Linked DNA regions of Homo sapiens: regions 2, 3, 4, 5, 6 and 7 are each linked to region 1. Evidence: promoter capture Hi-C in human tissues and cell types (Jung and others, 2019). All regions are on one chromosome and are shown on one strand. The core of a region is centred on a gene start or on the middle of the fragment in contact, and the rest is flanking DNA. Distances in the headings are between cores, read along the strand shown. Region 1 holds the start of RGMA (repulsive guidance molecule BMP co-receptor a). Region 2 overlaps LINC01581 (long intergenic non-protein coding RNA 1581). Region 3 overlaps LINC01580 (long intergenic non-protein coding RNA 1580). Region 4 has its middle 21 kb from the start of LINC02207. Region 5 has its middle 47 kb from the start of LINC02207. Region 6 overlaps LOC107983974 (a long non-coding RNA gene). Region 7 overlaps LOC107983974 (a long non-coding RNA gene).

Evidence for each region. Contacts are between HindIII fragments. The study calls those that stand out against the background at their distance.
Region 2: a contact is called between a fragment that was not itself captured here and the fragment with the promoter of RGMA in region 1, in 1 of the 25 tissues and cell types used here (H1 embryonic stem cells).
Region 3: a contact is called between a fragment that was not itself captured here and the fragment with the promoter of RGMA in region 1, in 1 of the 25 tissues and cell types used here (mesenchymal stem cells).
Region 4: a fragment that was not itself captured here is called in contact with the fragment with the promoter of RGMA in region 1 in 2 of the 25 tissues and cell types used here (H1 embryonic stem cells and dorsolateral prefrontal cortex).
Region 5: a fragment that was not itself captured here is called in contact with the fragment with the promoter of RGMA in region 1 in 1 of the 25 tissues and cell types used here (dorsolateral prefrontal cortex).
Region 6: a fragment that was not itself captured here is called in contact with the fragment with the promoter of RGMA in region 1 in 1 of the 25 tissues and cell types used here (hippocampus).
Region 7: a contact is called between a fragment that was not itself captured here and the fragment with the promoter of RGMA in region 1, in 2 of the 25 tissues and cell types used here (aorta and stomach).

What each region holds. Positions count from the first base shown.
Region 1 is chr15:93,087,761-93,090,824 of GRCh38, reverse strand. RGMA (repulsive guidance molecule BMP co-receptor a) reads left to right here and starts at 1,614. Exons shown (of 4, transcript NM_020211.3): 1 at 1,614-1,906. The coding sequence starts at 1,893. It overlaps LOC101927025 (a long non-coding RNA gene), which reads right to left and starts at 1,611. Exons shown (of 5, transcript XR_007064769.1): 1 at 1,548-1,611. The HindIII fragment of the contact is 13,871 bases long and covers 1-3,064 here.
Region 2 is chr15:94,022,173-94,025,236 of GRCh38, reverse strand. The region is part of intron 2 of LINC01581 (long intergenic non-protein coding RNA 1581); the gene reads left to right. Among named protein-coding and RNA genes, the nearest start is that of LINC01581, 84 kb to the left of the region's middle. The HindIII fragment of the contact is 3,224 bases long and covers 14-3,064 here.
Region 3 is chr15:93,959,418-93,962,481 of GRCh38, reverse strand. All of the region lies in intron 2 of LINC01580 (long intergenic non-protein coding RNA 1580), which reads right to left. All of the region lies in intron 6 of LINC01581 (long intergenic non-protein coding RNA 1581), which reads left to right. Among named protein-coding and RNA genes, the nearest start is that of LINC01580, 60 kb to the right of the region's middle. The HindIII fragment of the contact is 4,793 bases long and covers 1-3,064 here.
Region 4 is chr15:93,833,805-93,836,868 of GRCh38, reverse strand. No RefSeq gene overlaps it. Among named protein-coding and RNA genes, the nearest start is that of LINC02207, 21 kb to the left of the region's middle. The HindIII fragment of the contact is 3,321 bases long and covers 1-3,064 here.
Region 5 is chr15:93,807,726-93,810,789 of GRCh38, reverse strand. No RefSeq gene overlaps it. Among named protein-coding and RNA genes, the nearest start is that of LINC02207, 47 kb to the left of the region's middle. The HindIII fragment of the contact is 5,514 bases long and covers 1-3,064 here.
Region 6 is chr15:93,707,582-93,710,645 of GRCh38, reverse strand. The region is part of intron 5 of LOC107983974 (a long non-coding RNA gene); the gene reads right to left. Among named protein-coding and RNA genes, the nearest start is that of LINC02207, 150 kb to the left of the region's middle. The HindIII fragment of the contact is 3,561 bases long and covers 1-3,064 here.
Region 7 is chr15:93,641,227-93,644,290 of GRCh38, reverse strand. All of the region lies in intron 5 of LOC107983974 (a long non-coding RNA gene), which reads right to left. Among named protein-coding and RNA genes, the nearest start is that of LINC02207, 210 kb to the left of the region's middle. The HindIII fragment of the contact is 6,025 bases long and covers 1-3,064 here.

The sequences.
Region 1 (3,064 bases), core at 365-2,864:
AATGATGACTCCAAGGAGTCCTGGTTCCTGCCCTCATGATGCTTATGGTACGGTGGGAGAGGCCAACATGTAGGGAAAGGTCACTCTAATGAGCGCCTAATTACCGAGTGAGCTCAGTGTTAGGAAGGAAAGGCACGGATGTGAGGACTCCCTAGAGGGTGGGGAAGATGTTGGAGCTGAGCTATGAAAGATGAAGAAATTGGTTATTCACTGAATGTCAGGGCACAGAATGTCAGGGCAGGAAGACCACACACACACACACACACACACACACACACACACACACACACACCCTACTATTCATAGATGAGGAAACTGAGGCCCAGCAGAGCTAGATGACTTGCCGAAGGTCAGAGCTAATTCTAGAAACCCATCCCCAATCCCTTCCTGCTAAACCACTTAATTTTATTTATATCCCAGCTATAGATTATACAAATACACTTGACAAATAAAACGGAGAATATTGAGTTAAAACCACATCTCTGAAGACCACACGCATAAATAACGATCGTGTTTTAATGCGGACGATACCTTTTCATTTTGCAAATCCAGAGTTCTCATCATATCAAAATTCAAGACAGTTTGTTCTGTAAGAAGGGGAAGGTCATAACCCTGTCTAGAATGTACTGGCAAATCTCTCTAACCGTGCAGTGCTAATTTGGGCCTGAGCTGTGTAACCAGACCGACTTCACGCTCCAGCTGGGGTTTCAGATCCACACATGGCGATTGGGTGGCTCTTTGCTGTTTCACAGCAAGGGTCCTTCCCTGGGCTCCCGGAGCCTCTGGGGATTTACTGCTCCCGACGTGGCCGTGTTCAAGCCACTGTGTGCATGCGCTTAATGTTGAAAACATTCTTTTGAAAAGCCCAGGAGATTCCACTCGCAATCTGTGCGTGTGCATGTAAAAGCGCAGAGACTGGAAAGAACCGCGGCAGAGCACACCCTGACCGAAGGTTACCGCGGGGGAGCCGCGGCCGTGGGAGAGCCGCGGCCGTGGGAGGGAGTGCGATACGGTCTTTTCACTCTAGACACTCCTGAGTTATGTACAATTCTACGCAAGAATGTATGCGTGTGTTAGCATGTAATACATATGTATTAGTTTTTTCAGGAAGATTCTTAAACAACAACAAAATCTCTATAGAACAAAGGTGCGTCTCCGCAGAGCGCAACAGCATTTGTCTTGGATGTAACCGCCTTCTCCAGAAATCTCAGAGGAACTCCCCTCGACCACCGCCTAACTGAAGGACACCGTGCGCTCCACCGCAACCCTGCGGGCGATTCGGAAAGTTGGAGGCGCCCCGGGGAGTCGCCGCACTTGCCGCCCGCGCCCCCTAACCTGAGCATTCAAGGAGTCTTGACTTGGCCGCTGGCGCACTCCGCACCCACCCAGCCGGTGCTGATGCGGGAGGGTGGGGCCGCGGCGGGGCGGGGCAACGCGAGCCCGCACCCCGCTCCTCCCCGCCCCTCCCTGCCGGCCCCGCCCGCGCGCGCCCCCCGCCCGCGGCCCGGGCGCCCGGCCCGCCCCCTCCCCTCGGCGCGCAAACGAACCTCGCGACGCCGCGCTCGGCGGCGGGCGGGGGCCGGGCGAGGGAGGGGGCTGGTCCCGGCCGCCCCACTCTGCAGTTGTCTCCCGAGCGCTGGCTGCGCCGCCCGAGCCGCTGGGCCGGGGAAGCACTGGCCGTTCGCTCCCGGGCCGGCTCCGCCAGGCGCTCGCAGGCATGCAGCCCGGGAGCAGGAGGCGCTCCCCGGGCCGCTGCTGAGCCGGCCGGGGCGGCGGGGACCAGCGCCAGCGGAGCCCCTCCCACCTTGCCCCGGGGCAGACGAGCGGCGCCCCGACACCCCCTCTTCTCCCGCAGCCCCGCCAGCGCCACCCCCCGCGGGCCGCAGGGGCTCATGCAGCCGCCAAGGTAAGCGCGGGTCGGGAGCCGGGCAGACCCGGCTCTGACATCTCCGAGGCGCCGCCGACACATGCCGGGGCCACGGCGCTGCTTTGGTCTTCCTTAGCCCCGCGTCTCATCTTGCTCCCATCTTGCCCACATTTGGAGCTTTGCTGCGCCTCTATCGCTTTAGCTGTTGGCAGCAGGAAAGTTTTTGTGGTTTGGTGTTTGTTCTTTTTTCCTAAAATACTCTCCCCCGGGCAGCCGCCAGCGCGCGTGGTTGGGCAGACCCGGCACACGTCCCTTACACCGTGTGCGGGCTGGGAGCTCCTTCCCTCAGCCCGGCTCGCGGAGCCCCGGACGGAGCCGGCCACCCGACTGTCCCGCCGTGAACCCCCATTGGCCCGCGCCGCCCGGGCCCCCGCCTCCCGCTCGACGCCCGGCTGCGGAGCTGCCTGGCCATCTCCTGCCCTCGGGGATGTCGGCGCAGTGCACCGCGTGGGCTCGCGTCCCGGCGGCCCTTTGCCTCGGCGCGCCGGCGTACGGGAAGGTGCGGACCTTGGATTGAGGGCCGAGGATGCCCATTGCCAAGCCGCCCCGGCTTTCCTAAGTGGACGGGAGGGCACGGCGACGATTCAGCGCCGGCTCGCGCCGCAGCTCAACCCAGGGTACAAGCCCGGGCATGGGGGACAGGTGTATTCAATGGGAGGGCGGGTGTGGGGGACGCTCGGGTGCAATTCGGGATTGCGTCTTATTAATGTAATTGTATTAGACTTGCTCGGAGGTAGAATCAGTTCTCCCAAATTGAGATTTCTAATGGGAGCCTGTGAGCTGCTATTATGTGGTGTGGTTTTGGGAGGTGTTGGGTTGTATTTATTTTATAAATTGGGTGTCTCGCGGGCGGAGTAGGGGAAGTAGCGCCATCTAGCGGAAGTGGTGAGCTGTGCATTCCTCTTAGGCTGCGAAGTTGTTGGGTGTTCTCAAAGTAGTCTCCCGCACAAGGTGGAGAGGCGGGAACCAGCCCTCGCCTCCAGGAAGGAGGCTACAGAAGCTCTCTGAGTATCGACGGTACCAGGGAGAACCCCGACCTCCCATGCTCAGCACATTGAGCTCAGGGGACGAAATTGCGGGTCGTGTTGAGTGGCATGCTGTCACCTAAAGGAGCTCCATCACCTTCTCTGTTTGGTT
Region 2 (3,064 bases), core at 376-2,875, 930 kb before region 1:
TTCATAGAGACGGCCAAGCACGGTGGCTCACGCCTGTAATCCCAACACTTTGGGAGGCCGAGGCGGGTGGATCACGAGGTCAGGAGTTTGAGACCAGCCTGGCCAATATGGTGAAGCCCCGTCTCTACTAAAAATACAAAAATTAGCCAGGCGTGGTGGTGCACATCTGTAATCCCAGCTACTCAGGAGGCTGAGGCAGGAGAATCTCTTAAACCCGGGAGATGGAGGTTGCAGTGAGCCAAGATTGTGCCACTGCACTCCAGCCTGGGTGGCAGAGCGAAACGCTGTCAAAAAAAATAGTGAAAAAGAAAATTCATAGAGATAGAAAGTAGAATGGTGGTTGTCATGATCTGGTGGGAGGGAAGAGTGGGAAGTTGTTTAATGGGTATCAAGTTTGCAAGACAAAAAGAGTTATGGAGATGGTTGGAGGTGATGTTTGTACAACCATGTGATTGTACTTAATGCCACTGAACTGCACACCTAAGAATAGCTGAGATGGTAAATATTATGTTATGTTTACTTTACCACAACTTTAAAAATTAAAATAAAAAGCTGAATAACAATATTAATTTCTTTACTTTTTTGTTGTTGTGTTGATTAAATGGACTAGTGTCTTCCATAATTTAGCCCAGTGCTGGGCACATACATACCAGCCCAATAAATTGTAGGTATCAAAAAATACAAAAATAAAAACAAAACACCAAAAACTAGCAATGGATATTTTTTGGATTCACAACTCTTGGCTCTGAGCTAAGACTGTTAAGGCTGAAAACAAGCTTAAAGTGTTCCCCAAACCTGGAGCGAGACAGCAGTTACGGGCGAGCCATGGTGAAGTCCTCAGCAAGACAACACTCCATCTTAGCCAAGGTGAGTGTGTGTTTCTTATAGTTCAGACAGAATGCAAAATAGCAAGTGGTGACAAAGAGGACAAGCAAGGTGCCTTAGGACGTGCCTGAGGGGAAAGGTCAGAAGGAAGTCCTCTGGATGGTGTCCCACTGTGGCGGGAGGTCACTGGGTGTGCCTGAAGTCCAGTCCTCAGAACACAGCCCCTGACGCTCAACCAGGCAGTAAATTTCCCTCATTATAAATGCCCTTCACAGTCCTTCACTCACTTGGATATGTCTTTTCCCTGAAGCTAACAAGCTTGGCAAACTTGCTCTTTTTCATAAAACATGGTGCCACTAGGAATATTTAGGAAAAAAAAAAAAAAAAGAATGTTTCCTAAGCAGCTGAGATGGTTGAGTACCTGTCAGGTTTGCAGGGGTCATCTCACACCGGGATATGCCCAAGCCCAGCTGAGGCTACCTAAGGTCGGGCAGCAGGAATCTTTCTCAAGGGGCTGGGTTAATTTGCTCTTTCAGTTCACTTGCACCATCCCTGCAAATCTGGCCATGCTCTCTTCCTAGTGATCTAAAATATTCCAGTTTTTAATTAGTTCCAGGCCAGTCAATGCGACTGCCCCATCCACACAATGCATTTGTGCCAATTCAAAGTCTGAAGCCGATGAACTAATACAGCCAACTGAAGACCTGTTGAAGGAGGCAAATGGGGCCGTGCTGCTGCTGGAAAATTTGCCTGGAGTGCCTGCCAGCCCCTGGGGCCCTTTCCAAGCCAGGCCTGAACCACAGGCCTGTTAGGAAAGGACTGCTGGATTCAGCCCTTACCTCTTCAGAAACCAAAGGGTAATTAAAGCATGGGATGCAAATTCCCCACAATATGGGGGATGTGTCCTATGATCTATAACATTATTGGCCCAGCACATGTTAACAGAAGTCATGAGCAAAATCCACAAAGGCCCAGCAGGATGGAGAAAAAAATTAATACAGGTACAGTTCCTTCTAAATATGTAGCCTCATTTGCCCCTGAAATACAGAGCCAAGCCATTTGAGTCTGCAGCTCCGTTTCACCCTTTGCTTCTGTATTGGATAGCTTTAGGGAATTTTACATCCAAAATTGTCTCTTAATAGTATTGCTTGGCATTTCTTAATTATGAAAAGGAAAAAATTCATATATCACATATATGTGTAATGTATGCTTGTGTATATGTGTGTATACATATAATTTGAGTTTGAATTAACATATTTAAATTCTGTATGTTTCTTCATATTACATTTTAATACAACACTAATGTGTAAATCATAACCCCCAAAATAAAATAATATGCATCTGGTAAAATTTCTCATGTCAGCCAGGATTATGTTTGCTACAATTCAATTCAGGTTTTATTAGACACACCGTGAATGTTAAACTTTCTCATTTTAAGTGCTCTCTAAAAACACACTTTTCATTCATTCATTCATTCATTTATCCATTTGATGTATATTTCTTGAGTATGTGTAGCCACTATGTGTCAGGCTAAACCTACCATTTAGCAGTGAACAATAAAAAATTCATAGATGAAACTCCCTCCTTCATGGAACTTATAATGTCATGATATTATTTACCTTCTTTTTTAAAAAGAAAATAAATGCATCCCGAATACTGAAGATTCTCAAGTGATTATTGCTAATTGTCATATGGTCATCATTTCTCTCAGCTTTTAAATCATATTTACAAACTCGGTGGGTGATCTTTGACTTTGACAAGTCCTCAATGTCATTGTCATATCACAGTGGAAATGGTATTGACCCCACACCTCTGCCATACTGCAACTCAGTGACTAATCCCACAAAGACCCTCTGGGGCTCATAATGGTTGGATCACACTTTTCATTCAGGAAGTATATGCTTTCCCAGCCTGGCATGGATACAAATTTTGGTTGAGATAGTAGGAAAAAGCACGGTCATTTTCACTGAACTGAATTAAAAAAGCAGTCACAAGATGGTTGGGTGCAAATCCCTCTGGGGGGAGAAAAATGAAACAGAGACTCCTTGTGTCTCAATGACCCTGGTGCCCCAACATCAAGGTCTCATGTCAGGTTGGCGGTACTCCCGTCCTCCTCTCACTGCTCTTCAGCATCCTGCCAGATTGCTCCTGACACTGCTCCAGCCCAGGTTTAAGGAGGAAAATGTCACATTTTACACTCCTGAGGATTTCTCCCGGCAACCTTCTGCTCCATACCACA
Region 3 (3,064 bases), core at 307-2,806, 870 kb before region 1:
TAAAATGCAGGAAAGGAAAAGAGGGAGCCATATGAACCCTTCTTCTCATTTTTCAGTCCAATTTGCAGACTAACGAACTTTACGCTAATGAAAATTTGAACTAATGAACGTTTCCCTTGTCAGTATTAAATCTTATCAGTGCCACCATCTCTAAATGATTACTGATCTCATTTTTGATCCAGAACTCTTTCACTCTTGTTGTCTAGGCTGGAGTGCAATGGTGCAATTTCAGCTCATGCAACCCCTGCCTCCCAGGCTCAAGCGATTCTCCTGCCTCAGCCTCCCAAGTAGCTGGGATTACAGGCGCCCACCACCATGCCCAGCTATTTTTTTTTTTTTCTACTAGAGGAGAGGTTTCACCATGTTGGCCAGGCTGGTCTCGAACTCCTGACCTGACCTCAGGCGATCCACCTGTCTTGGCATCCCAAAGTGCTGGGATTACAGGCGTGAGCCACTGCACCCTGCCTATATATATAAATTCTATAATAATTTGAGACAAATATCAAGCCCTCCTCCTTCCATAATATCTTTCTTCTCTACTAGAATAAACCATAATTTCCTCCTCCTCTGAATTTCTGCACTTTCATACAGATATCATCAACAGAGAGTGAGCCTTCTTAGCTGGAGGTGTTTGAGCATAATCTCTGGCCAATTGTTGACTGAACACTACCAGAGCACTAAGATTCAGGCTGAAAAATAATAAATAAAGGAACAAATAAGTGAATAATTTCTAAAAATAAGCAGAGCAGGGACATTCGCGGCCACACCAGGTAGGGGAGACAGAATTCACAGATTTAATTCATGCATGTTACAAAAGAAAACAACAACCCTCAGAGAGAAAAGGACTCAGAATCCAGAACTGACACAACATATTATCTAGAATGTCTCGACTTCAAATAAAAATTATAAGGTGTGCAAAGAGACAAAAAAGTGTGATCATATTTAGAGGAACAAAACCTGTCACTAAAAGTTGTCTCTCAGTGTCACCGGTATTAGATTTGTCAGACAGTGACTTTAAAACAGACAGGTTCAATGTGTTCAATGAATTAAAGGAAACCGAACATAAAGAATTAAAGGAAAGTATGTTAATAATTATTCAATGGCTCGGCTGTCTCAATAAAGAAACAGAAGTTATAAAAACGAACCAAGTGGAAATACAGGTTGTATATAGCAACATAAGGATACAATGTAAGGTTATCTAAAGCAATAATTATGGCAGTGCCTTGTTGGGTTTATAACATGAATATACACATGTAATACTGCATGTGAAAACAATAACACAAATAAAAGTGAAGGAGAAAGATGGAGTGGATACGAGTTTCCATATTTTACCAGAATTTAGATAAAAATTATAACCGTAATAAAAAAAACTAAGCAGAGAGGCTCTATAAGAAATTTTATACAACAGAAGTCACCAAACTATAAAAAAGATCAATAGAAAATACCACGTTTAAAGAACACAGAGAAAAAAAAATGAAGAAAAATAAAGGGAGTCCTAAATACCTGTGGAATAGCTTTGAGTATAACAATTTAGGTGTAATGTTATTTCTAACAGCAAAGGATAAAAAAAGGAGAAGAAAAATATTTCAAGAAGTGATGGCTGAAAACTGTCCAAATTTGATGAAAATCATTAATCTGCAAGGAGCACCGATAATCCTCCCAAAAAAAACACAAAAATATTCACACCTAGATACAACACAGTTAAATTCTTAAAAGCCAAAGACAGAGAAAAATCTCAAAAGCAACGAGAGAAAATACAGGGGAATAAGAATAGATATAATAGCTAACTTTGTCAATCAGGGATTCTAAACCAAAAAAAAAAGTTTTTGTTTTTGTTTTTGTTTCTTAATGAAGGTGAAATACAAACCTCTCCAGACAAAAGCTAAGATAATTCATCATTTGGACACTTGCATTATCAAATTTGTTTTTAAATTACTAAAGGAATTTTGTAAATATGTAGGTAAATATATAAGACTTAATGTAAAGTATTTTCTCTTTTTTCTTAACTTCTTTAAAAGACATAAGGTTGTATAAAGTATGTTTATAATACTGTATTGTTAAATATGTAATATATCTATATCTATCTGTCTGTCTATAATACATGTGATGATAACACAAGAGCAAGTATAGGAAAAAGTATATATAGTAGAGCAAAGTTTTAATAGTTGATCAGAAATTTGTTAGTATTATTTTGAAAGATACTGTGCTAATTTCAGATGCACACTATAATCTTTATAGTATCTACTAAGAAAATGAAGAGAAGTATGAAAATGGCACACTGAAAATATTTATTTAACATAAAGGCTGGCAGTAAATCAGAAACAGAGGAAAAAGAAAGACATGGGATAAATAGAAAACAAGTAGCAAAATAGCTGATATAAATCCAACCATGTCAATAATTACATTAAATGTGAAAGTACCAAACTCTGCCCTTAAATAGCACAGAATGTCAGAATGAGGTTTTAAAAATTCATCAATGCACTGTCTAAAAAAGAAATATGCTTGATTTTAAAATACAGGTTGGAAGGAAAATAATTTAAAAATATAAATCATGTAAACAGTAACCATAGAAGTGCTAGAGTGGCTACATTATTATCAAATTTAAAAAAACAGGAAATATTACTAGAGGCAAAGAGGGTTACTTTATAATGATAAAAGGCTCATTATATTAAAATGATTTTAAAATTGTAAATATATGCATACCTACCTCAGAGCTCCAAAATACATAAAGAAAAAAAACTACAGACTTGAGAAAAGAATTAGAATTAGACAACTTAGCAATAACAGTTGAATATTTAAACCAGCTAATCTCAGAGATTAATAGAAGAGCTAGATAGAAAATCAGTAGGTGTATGGAAAACTCAATTCTAGCAATCAATTTTATCTAACCAACATATACAAAATATTCTACCAAATGACTGTAGAACACCTATTAAAGTGCACATGAAATATTCCTCAGGATAGGAAAAAAGGTCAGAAGATATCTCAATAAATTTTAAAAGACTGTCATCACACAGAGTGTCTTATCTGATCACAATTAAATATCCATTATAGAACCAGACTA
Region 4 (3,064 bases), core at 297-2,796, 750 kb before region 1:
TATGTTGGCCAGGCTCATCTCGAGCTCCTGACCTCATGATTTACCCACCTGGGCTTCCCAAAGTGCTGGGATTACAGGCTGAGCCACCTCACCCGTCCTCTCTAACATATTTTTAAATGGCCCTGCAAAGCCCTCTCTTGTGGCAGAAATTAGCCTCTGTATAGAATCTCCTCTTACTAGGTCTTTACTGGATCCAGAAGAGATTTAACTGAGATTCCAAAACCTTTTAATGTCCAAAGAAAGGCATTTACCATCCTTTCTCTCTGAAGCCTGCTGCTTAGAGGTTTCATCTACGTAACAAGAACCTTGGCTTCTACAGCCTTCCCCATCTTAACTCAAGCATTTCTTTCTACTGAATTCAACTTTTTCGACAAAGCTTAACTCTTTCAAGCAATTACCAATCAGAAAATCTTTGAAATTACCTGTGACCTGTAAGCCCCACCCCCGCCAATTGCCAATCTGCACTTTCTGGGCTGAACCAATGTATACCTTACATGTATTAATTTATGTTTTTGCCTGTAACTTCAGTTTCCCTAAAATGTATAAAACCAAGCTGTAACCCAACCATCGCAGGCACATTTTCTCAGGACCTCTCAAGATTGTACCCCACGCCATGGTCAGTCATATTGGCTCAGATAACCTCTTCAAATATTTTACAGAGTTTGGCTTTTTTCATCAACATCAAACATAATTCTCTAAATAAGTTTTATACAGAATTTCCCAAGGTTTAATTCACTGTAAGAACACAGATTGAAATATAAAGCTTCTCTCTCTGAGTGGTGACATTACGGGCAATTCTACTTTTCCTTTGCATATGTATTTCTCAAGTTTTCTGCAATGATATTGCTTACAAGAGAATGACAGAGGAAGGAAGAATGGGAGGAAAATCAGATAACTTCAAACCTCACTATCTAGTACTGCTCAATTCTACCTTGGTAACTGAAGCTGGACATCCATTAGTATATTTTCCAAATATGCTTTTGTTGACAAGACACAAATTAAAATGTGACTATAAACTGGCATGGGAATCTGCACCTCAATTTTAATAGCAAGAAGAAAAACAAGGCGTTGAGCAAATGAAAGAGCATAAACACAAGGAAACATAGGGGAAAAAACAACCCCGGGAAGAGCATGGCAGAAATAATGGGACTCACCAGCATCCATTCCAGTCTCTAAGTCTAAACCAATCATAGCAGTTTCACCCGCTGTGTGTGACTGGTTCAGGAACGGGTCTCTAATCCCATTCTGACCTAAGAGACTGGAGTCTACCAGCCTGAGGGTGAAGATGACTCCCAGGCTGGCAGAGCAGAGGCCTCTAAAAAGCATGATGGTATCAGGAAAGCTCTGATCAGCCACTGCATTGTCTGCCCCTCTGTGATGTAAATAATGCTTGCCATCACTATTTGAAGCCAATTTGAGGTGTGTGTTCTGCTACTTACTACCCAACATGCCTTATTTGCACAAATGGCCATGCAGACTTCCTCTTCTTCACAATTTTACCTAAGGAATGAACTTATTTTGCAATCCTGTCACACTAGTAATCTTTTCTTTTGAAAAAAGTGGGGTATTGGTTACTCTGTCATGATGATTTGTGCCCTATTTTTTGTATTTGTCCTTTTTCTTCAATCTTGCATATGCATCTTGTTATGACATTCCACCTCCTGATTTTCTTATGATTGTTCATTGCGCATGGTAAAAACATAACAGTAATTTATTGCCTGTAACTGAAGAATTATGTACATAAAGCACACATTAACATGTTAACTTATTAGGACTAATATAGTCAATTAAAATGGAAATGTTCATTTATTCAAAGGATCATGTGTCAATCTTGCTTTGGAAAAAATACTGGCATGAAATCTAGCAATAAAGAAACACACACACACATACACAAATATTAACCACTTAATTAGTGCATTTATAGTTTCCTTGACAATCTTAAAATTCTGAATTACTTAGTAAAATACAAAAAGTACAAAAAATGTAAAATTTACTTGTGTACCAGAATTAACAAATATTAACATTTTGCCAATTTTTATTTCAAGCACTTTCTATTAAAAAAATAGGAGATTAAGGATGAAGTTGAAGTTTATTCCTCCCACAACTCGTTTCTCTATTTTCCTTCCTAAAAGTATCATGAAGTTTTTAAAAAATGTTTTAATATACACATTCATCCCAATGAACAAATTATAATATCACTTTATTTCTCCTTTTCTTCTTTTTAATTTTAATTTTTTTAGACAGAGTCTTGCTCTGTCGCCCAGGCTGGAGTACAGTGGCAAGATCTCAGTTCCCTACAACCTCCACCTCCAGAGTTCAAACAATTCTCCTGCCTCAGCCTCCCAAGTTGCTGGGATTACAGGCATGCACCATCACATCCAGCTAATTTTTGTATTTTGAGTAGAGACAGGGTTTCACCATCTTGGCCAGGCTTGTCTCGAACTCCTGACCTCAGGTAATCCACCAGCGTCAGCCTCCCAAAATGGGAGTAATGCCTGGGATTACAGGCATGAGCCACTGTGCCCAGTCCCTTTCTCCTTTTCTGATGGTTGTACAAAAATTCTTTCTATAGCGTGGATACGATCTTAAATCTGCTACATGTGTTGTAAATACATTCTCCCAGCCTCGTCTTTTAAATTTGATTATAATGTACTTCTTTCTTTCTCTTCTTTCCTTTGTTTTTGTTTTGATAGGGATGCTTTTCATTTGATTTAACTTATTTACCTTTTCATTTGTGTCTTGGGTTGTTTCTGTCTTAAGAAATTTTCTATTTTAAAACTATTTCGACTTTCATATTTTCTTACACATTTCTAGAGTATTTCCCTTGGGATTCGTGTGTGTATGGATATGTGTTTATTCTAAATGTCTTTTTGTAAAGTATTTTAACTATGAATTTATTGTTCATTTTTAATTTAACAGAATTGTGATCAGAGTATATAATGTGTATGATATTAATACTTTCAGTTTATCAAATTTTTTTATGGTCTCATGTGGTCAATATTTATTTTAAAAGTTACATATGGACTTGAATATAATGGTTTCTATTTGTTGGTTAAGATGTATA
Region 5 (3,064 bases), core at 311-2,810, 720 kb before region 1:
CTCCATGCTTGTAATACGTACCAGTTAGGATTTTGGAGGAATGAGATATGTTGACAGCATGTCATGTTCCTACCATAGCTCCTGTATGTAGTTGGAGATCTATAAATGTTACCCTTCCCCTCCTGAAACATAGAGGATTGAGAAGAACTTCATAGAGGAAGGAGCATTTTAGTGGAACTTTAAAAGAAGTTCTTTTCTTGAAGTTGGAAATGGAGAGAATTCCATGTAGAGGCAAGAATTAAGCAAATTCAAATGCGTATGGAAGTAACCAGAAACAATAAGTATCATGTTGCAGGATACATCTAGAAATAGTGAGAAATGACTCTTGTAGGACAGGCTGCAGGTACTTTGTAATGAAAGTATCTCTTGCAATAAAGCAATCTTAATCTAACTTTAGAAGGATGAATTTTTTTTACATTCTAACAATATAGGTAATATTCTAAGTCCTTTCTTAGTACTATGAACATTTGTATTTGGAGATTTCTATTTGCCTAAGAAAATGAAGAACTGTTCTTTAGGATTGAGCAAGTCTATTCTGCAGTAAGGCAAATGACAGCCTTTTCAGGTCACCTTTCCATGGGCTTAGGTCTAAAAAATTGCAGCAATTATATCATTTCATCCCAAGATTGTTCTTTTTCACAAAGCTTGCTGCTGATGGGGAGATATGATTTCAAAAAATTTGAGACAGAATGAGTACTGGACTAGCACAGAGCAGGACCTAGCAGTTAGAAAGTCTTTAGTAATTTATTTTCTTTGACATAAAATTAATTGATTTTAGTCTTGCTCTAGCAGTTGTGGCCCATCCCTGCTACTAATTGTCTAAGTGCCTTTGGGTAAGTCTTGCAAAAATTCTTTAAGCCTCACTTTCCTCCTTTGGGAAAAAAAAAAAAAAACTGAGATTATAATAACAAAGATGCTGAGAGGTTAACATTGGAGGAAATATATGAAAGAACCAAGTCTAATCTCTGGCCATACAGAGCAGATAGATAACGAAAGGTGATTGGCTCACGAAAACTACAATCCATGATTCCAGGGTCAAGCAACACTGTGGATTGGAGCTCCTATTAGACCCCCTATGCCAAATCGCAACCAGATGGTCTTTAAGGATTCTGCCAAGGCAGTACATTTTCTTTTAATCATTTTCTTCCTTTTTTTTTTTTATTGGAGCTTAGTGATGAGTGTTCTTTATAAATTTATTCTTTCTGACCTGGCTCAGAGAAAGGAAATGAAGTAAAAATAACATAATACAATAAAAAATAACATAATAAAATTAAAATGTTAAAAATTAAACAAAAAAATAAAAAAACATACAACCACCTCTTCATTCTGTTGGGAAGATTTGTACCCTGGCCTCTATTCTCATCTGTAGAATGGAGAATATAATCAGGTGGGTGTCCAAGCATCTTTCCAGCTCTAATTCTCTGAACCACATTTTATAGTAAACAAGACAGGTACAGTTAACTCTTGATCAGCATGGGTTTGAACTGTGTGGGTCTACTTATATGCAAATTTTCCTCCACCTCTGCCACCCTTGAAACAGCAAAAGCAACCCTTCCTCTCCCTCCTCTTCCTCAGTCTACTCCATATGAAGATGATGAAGATGGAAGACCTTTATGATGATCCACTTCCACTTAATAAATTGTAAATATATATTCTCTTCCTTATGATTTTCCTAATAACATTTTCTGTCATCTAGCTTACTTTAATTTTAAGAATACAGTATATAGGCCGGGCGTGGTGGCTCACACCTGTAATTCCAACTCTTTGGGAGGCCAAGGCAGACGGATCACCTGAGGTCAGGAGTTTGAGACCAGCCTGGCCAACATGGTGAAACCCCATGTCTACTAAAAATACAAAAACTAGCCAGGCATGGTGGCATGTGCATGTAATCCCAGCTACTCGGGAGGCTGAGGCATGAGGATCACTTGAACCTGGGAGGCAGAAGTTGCAGTGAGCCGAGATCACACCATTGCACTCCAGCCTGGGCAACAGAGCAAGACTCTGTCTCAAAAAAAGAATACGGTATATAGTACATGCAACATACAAAATGTGTGTTAATCAACTGTTTATATTATCAGTAATGCTTCTGGTCAACAGCAGGCTATTACTAGTTAAGTTTTTGGGAAGTCAAAAGTTATACATGGATTTTGAACTGAGGGGAATCAGCAGCCTTAATCCCTGAGTTGTTCAAGAGTCAACTGTAAGGGAGCCAGAGGAGATGTATTCACATCTTTTTCTACCTCAGTTTATGTATTTTAAAAAATTAAATACATTTGAAAATATATTTTACTTTTTTACTTTAACTGTATGGTTTTCATCCTACAAAAACACTTTGAGGAGGGACTTGCAATCTCCACTTGTTTTTGAAAAAGGAATTGTGGCTCAGAGAGGTTAAATGACTTGCCTAAGGTCACACAGGGAATGAGCAACAGAGCAGAAACATGTATGCAGGTATTCTGATCAAATGTTTTTTTCTTTTTTTTTTTTTTTTGTCTTTTTTGAGATGGAGTCTCACTCTCTTACCCAGGCTGGAGTGCAGTGGCACGATCTCGGCCCAGTGCAACCTCTACCTCCTAGTTTCAAGCAATTCTCCTGCCTCAGCCTCCTGAGTAGCTGGGATTACAGGCACATGCCACCATGCCTGGCTAGGTTTTGTTTTTGTTTTGTTTTGTTTTGTTTTTCTTTTTTGGAACGGAGTCTCTCTGTGTTGCCCAGGCTAGAGTGCAGTGGCGCGATCTGGGCTCACTGCGACCTCCACCTCCCAGGTTCAAGCGATTCTCCTGCCTCGGTCTCCCGAGTAGCTGGGACTACAGGTGCCTGCCACCATGCCAAGCTAATTTTTGTATTTTTAATAGAGAGGGTGTTTCACCATATTGGCCAGGCTGGTCTCGAACTCCTGACCTCAAGTGATCCACCCACCTTGGCCTCCCAAAATGCTGGGATTACAGGTGTGAACCACCACGCCCAGCCAAATTTTTTCTTTTCTACAAAGTATTTCTGAAACTCAACTTTCCAGTACAATTTCTTTAGGAAACTTTTACGGTTTCAAAAATTGCTTTGGATG
Region 6 (3,064 bases), core at 257-2,756, 620 kb before region 1:
GCCTGTTACATGTCGTTAGGTGTTTTGTTTGGCCTTTAAATTGGAGCAGTGATGAAAACAGAGAAGGACCTTGTACTCAAGGAGTATATCTTCTAAACAAAGTACTTTGAGAGTAGAGAGATGAGAGTAGATACTGGGTAATGTGCATTGGAAGATAAAGGGAGTCATATCTTCTCCCAGGCCAGGGGAGTGGATGGCAAAATTGAAGAAGGCTGCTAAGGCAAGGTGACTTGTGACTTGAAGTTTGACAAATGAAGAGGAATTCATCAGCTAATGGGGAGGGAAGGGCATAGAGAGCAGGGCACGTAAAATAATGATTCAGAGATGAAAAAGTACATAACATCATCAGAGAATGGGGAACAATTTATGTAGCGGAAGCCTTGTAAATTGGAGCCCGATTCTGAAGAATCTTGAATGCCATGCAAAGCAATTTGAGCTCCAAATATTTTTAGCCAACCAGGTATAACCTTTATTTTTTTCTGGTCCAGTTAAATCTGTTAATACCCACAGACAGCAGAACACTCAGCATATTATAGGTCACTTGATTAATCCAGTGTAAGCCATGCTCCATCTCCACAATGAACAATTAAAATACATAAAATGGTTTTATGCTGTGGGATAAGACTCACTCTTTAAAAATTTTCTAGCTAGTAATCAGGTATACCAGGGGACAAAGTTGATTCTCTATCCTTGAGTTCTTAGGGTGTTGAGACAGTTTCAGGCCAGTCTTGTCTAGACCTGTGAAGCCAACCTGTATGACCACTCTAGTCTGTTCTGGAACTCAGGATTTTTATGATTGTGAAATCTTGCAGCACATTTAAAGGACAAGCTGACAATAAATTGCTGGAGTAAAACTAAAACAATGCAAGGATTTCATTTCATATTTATGTCCACCTTTACGGTGCTTTTAAAATCTGTGACTTTTCCTTTGCTGTGCAAAAGCTTTTGCAGCACCTTGGCATCAGGCAAAAATAAGATACCTTTTGTGGTTCCCTAACTAATAATTTTATCAGCCATTTAGCAATTCAGCTTCAAGCTTCTGCAATATACTTGCTAACCTTTAATTAATAGGAAGCCTTTACCTTTATTCTCACAATGAAAGATAAGATCATTGTCACATGTCAAACAATAGAAAGTTAATTCTGTTTGTCACTGTTTTCTGTTAGAGTGAATATTGCATTTCTTTCCAAGTAGAATATTTATATGGGAATAATTTTACAGCTACATATAACCACAATCTTTCTTCAAAATGATGAATTTCGAAGGCCAAGACTTGTATGATAAAATCTCACTATATAATTTAATGATCTAGAAGAATGGTTGGACCGTTGTTGAATTTATGGACTCTTTGTGTATTAAAAAGTAGACATGAGCTCAGACTTCTCCAGTGATGAATAGGTACAGGGGCATGAACAGCAACTATTCATATAAGGTCAGGGTCTCTTCAAATCATTCCATCTTTGGGTCAAGATGTACACAGACTATTGCAAATTCTCTCATCACCTATTAAAAATGTAAACACTATGAGGTGGTAAAGCCCATTGCTTAAAAGAAAAGTTTCATGGCTTCTTGCCCTTAGCCTGCAGACCTCTTGTGGGATGATGTAGTCCTGGGCACAAACTGGCTTTTAATGTGATGTAGGTCACACTTCAAGCAGACTCGGGAGAGGCCCAAGGGCACGGGCTATCTTTCACTGTGAAAGCTAGGTTCAGGCTTGATAGCATGACCAGCATGAATGACTATGGAACTTTGGGCAAGAACAACAGCCAGCCATGCGCAACTGCACCTGAGAGCTGTTTTAAATTCAGGGATACTGTCCTTGACTTTGAGAAAATATCAGATCCCTCTTTTTCATTCCACGATGACTTTCTTTTTTTCTTTTTTTCTGGTGAACAGGGTGAAAACAAAGTAACATAACACTGCATCAAGATGCGCAGCTTGTGAAAGAAAGAGCCAATAAATCAGATGATTTGCTGTATCTACACAAGGTCAAATTGCAAAACAGATTGACTTTTCTCCACTAAACCGTCCAGCTTGGGACTTATAACAGCTGAACGCTTGGGGAGTTATTTTCAGTCTTTACAACAGAAAATAATTAAAACATTAAATCTCTAAACAGGCTGAAAATAAAGTAACCAAAGACCAAAAATCAAAAAACCAAAAAGCAAACACCAACAAATGTCCTCTCAAATGGTACTTAAAGTAGAATTTTCTTCCTTATTTTTGTAACTTCAACAAAAGGTATCAGGAAAGCTGTGCAGGTAAGTGAAGTTTGGACCAAAACCAAGGGAAATACAGGTAAGATAAGCAAAGTGAATATAATAGAACTGGCATTTATTACGCAGCAAGCATGTGCCAATGAATATGCCAGGTCCTCCACATAGTATCTCAACTTTACACATACAACAGTTCCATGAGATGGATATTTTAATCTTTGTATTACAAATTAAAACTTGAAGTATAGCAAAGTTATATAATTTATGCAACAATGCACAGATACTAAGGATTCAGACGCAGCTGTGGGAAAGCCCTTGTTGTTTTCCCGGGGGTTTCATGCTGCCTCCTCCATCATCTTGTCATCTGATATCCAATCCCACTCTCATCCCAGTGTCCAAAACCTAAGTGAGCACAAATTGCAAATGATTGTTGGACTTTAAGCTTCAAAGGGGGATGCAGGAGAGCCAGAGATGTGGGTGGGTGGGGTTGCCGAGAAGATCTACTAAATGCAAACTCCATTTCTCATCTGCCAGGTTACATCTGGCCAGCATCCAGCGACGCTTTCCCCCACACTCTCCCTCTAACATTTCACAGGACCCATCTCTGAGCCCTTGCCAGAGTCCTTTGCTCCTCCATGAGGCCTCTACAGAGCACAGTCAGCTGGGGCAGAAAAGGAGGTGAGGGAATGGAGAGACTGTGCTGGGTTCCGCACACTGCCAGCGGGCTAGAACTAAAGACATTTTCATGCTTACCAAAAATCCCAAACTTTCTCAAGTTTGGTTAAAAAAACAAATTTGAAGAAAAACAGAATCCCTGGAGACAAGATGACTTGTTTTAGAAAATGCTT
Region 7 (3,064 bases), core at 281-2,780, 550 kb before region 1:
CAGCTTTTACAAATTAATGTAGTGTTCACAACAGCTGTACATGTTGGCTGAGCAACTTTTTGCAAAATTAAACAATTGCTTATGCAAACATCACTAGCCCATCAAAACAACACCTACATACATGCAATAATTAAGTTTAGTTGTATTGGATATTTTGTCAACTTTGAGTCAAATAAAAACATAGCTGCGCACATATTTCATCAAAATGATGGCATATTTGTCAAATTTGTTACTGTAATATATAACTTGTTGATAATCAGACATATGGATTGTGGGACTCTATCTTCTTGCCCCAAATGTTCAGGCCAACCCTGCACCTTGAGGCCCAGATATCAGCTACATCAACTTATTCTTAGGAAGAAATATCAGGATCCTCAAGTTTGGACCATTCTTTCGTTATTGCCTTGAGGAAATGAATTTGTACATTATGATGCTGTTGACTGCCAGAAGCTACAGAAGTTCCCTGATATTTTAGGAAAGATGCATTAGGCTTCTGGATTCATGTGATTATGAGCACGATGCATTTATACTATTACACCAGTAGCTGTAATTCCTTCCTGACAAGTTGGTTGTGACAACAGTTCACGTATACCCCAGTTCTACATTTATAATTTTTGAGAGTGTTCAATTCTTTTTGCATCTCCTGTGTACAGCTCTCATTTGTTATTTTGCAATTATGATTTTGTGTAACTGATTCAACTCCCAGAAGACAGGGTCTTCTTACATGTGCAGAACCTGATGTGTATGACTGTGTTTAATAAAATTTCTTACTGTTTGTCTTTCTTGAGAAAAGAATGAAGACATTTGTTAGAGGAAAGTTCTTAATCTTTGAAAAGAGATTACAGCTAATCAAGGGCTCTTCAGCAATATCGGCTTTTTCCCAGCTTTTTATTTTCATTTTATGGTTGGTGTTCCACAAACACACATGAGTAACAGACACCTTGGCAGCAGCCACCTGCTCTGGAGAGTGACATCTGTTCCCTACTCTTAAATTTCTTTATCACATCAAGGTTTTATTTCTTATAGCATTTAGTTCACAATTATTTATTTAGCATCTACTAGGTGCTCTAAATTGTTTTACTTATGCATTTACTTGTATGTTCAGCCAACCTTTTTTTGTATGTTCAACCAACATACAAATAAACGTATAAATAAGATAACTTAGAGCACCCTAGTTGATGCTAAAATTTATATTTATTTAATTTATAAATACTGGTTGAACCAATATTGTATATTTGTTCCTCATTGTTTTTCTTCCTCAGTGGACTCAACTCCATGAAAGTAGAGACCTGTCTGTCTTACTTACTATAAGACCTTCAGCACCTGGAAATAGCAGGTGTTAAATATACCTGTACTGAATGGATGAATGTGTAAATATGTATCTACAATCTCAACAACTGATTTTTTTTTTTGGTATTTTTCCCCTATTCTTACTTTAGTCAAACAATACCAAGGAGTAATACCTATTGGTTTTAAAACAACAACTACCCAAAAAAAATGTTTGAAAGGACTCTGAAATTAGCCCTTTCTTGATGGTAATTGATGGACTGGCGTTTTCAGTTTTTCACCTCTCATTTCTCTCCTAAGCCACTCTTCGTTCTAATATAGACTGTACACTGATGCGTGCTCCTGCAGCGGGTGCTGTAACTGCTCTGGGTACGATACCGCAGGGCCCCTTTCTCCCAGCAAAATCTGTGTCCCACAGCCACACATTCATTCTTCAGAGCCAAGAAGAGGATTTTTTTCAGTCAAATTTCATTTGCTTGGGATAAATCTCATAGGCTATTAAATCTGATTTGCTGATCCCTGCTAACAGAGCATTTGAAGAACCATCAAAAGGACACTGAAAGTGTCACAGGTATTACAGTAAGCCCTTGATAGTGGCTTTTAGTGTGTTGTATGACGGGGAATGCAGTCCAAAGATAAGAATAGGCAGACAGGGAGGAATCCAGCCCAATCGAGTTCATTTCACACATGTACAGCCACTGACATGTCTGCAATAAGACTAGACAATGCCGTTGTTGGCAAGCTTGTTAGAACTTTTTTCACATAACAAACTCTAATTAGTTTTTGGTGTATCTTCAGTGCAACTAAGCAGATGAAAGAAAGAACAAATATGGGTTGATTCTGAAGGAGCTCTGTTCTTTAAAAAAGCATACCCATGAAGCAGATCAATATCAGATCAAAACATGCATGAAAGAAGGATTCACAGTAATTTCATACAAAAATAGTTGGAGGAGGAGGTAAGCAACATAGTCCAAAAGCTGTTGTCAATCCCTTTCTCCTTTCTGTCTTCACAACTAAAAGGAAAACTGTAAGTTTCTTGTAAGCTCTCTATTAAACCAGAATGTATTTTTCATGCAAAATGTTAAACCTCCAGCTAATGCTTGGTGCATTTTTCTGACACAAGCAAGCCTGACTTAGGACAGGAAGCACTAAATAAAAATAGCTCTGTTAGGCCGGGCGCGGCGGCTCACGCCTGTAATCCCAGCACTTTGGAAGGCCGAGGCGGGCGGATCACGAGGTCAGGAGATTGAGACCATCGTGGCTAACATGGTGAAACCCTGTCTCTACTAAAAATACAAAAAATTAGCCAGGTGTGGCGGCATGCCCCTGTAGTCCCAGCTACTCAGAAGGCTGAGGTAGGAGAATTGCTTGAACCTGGGAGGCAGAGGTTGCAGTGAGCCAAGATCGCACCACTGCACTCCAGCCTGGGCAACAGAGCGAGACTCTGTCTCAAAAAAAAAAAAAATGCCCTGTTATATACTATCTGTGATCCTGATGATGTCAGAGCCAAGATACAGAAAAACAAGGCTGGAGACACTGTGCCACCAGCAGAATACACTCTCCTGCTTCCAGGTAAAACGAGACGCAAAGAAAGCCATCCATTTCCTGGAAACTGCTGTTCTAGAACAAATGTACATATATAGGAAATGCCCTGGAAAGAAAAGACAGGATGTAGTGGGCACATTTACAAGGCATGTCAAATGTAGCTCTCAAAATGATTGGATGGGTTGAGATGGGAAGTGCTGAGAAGAGGGCAGGGTTGAGGCTGAGAACACTC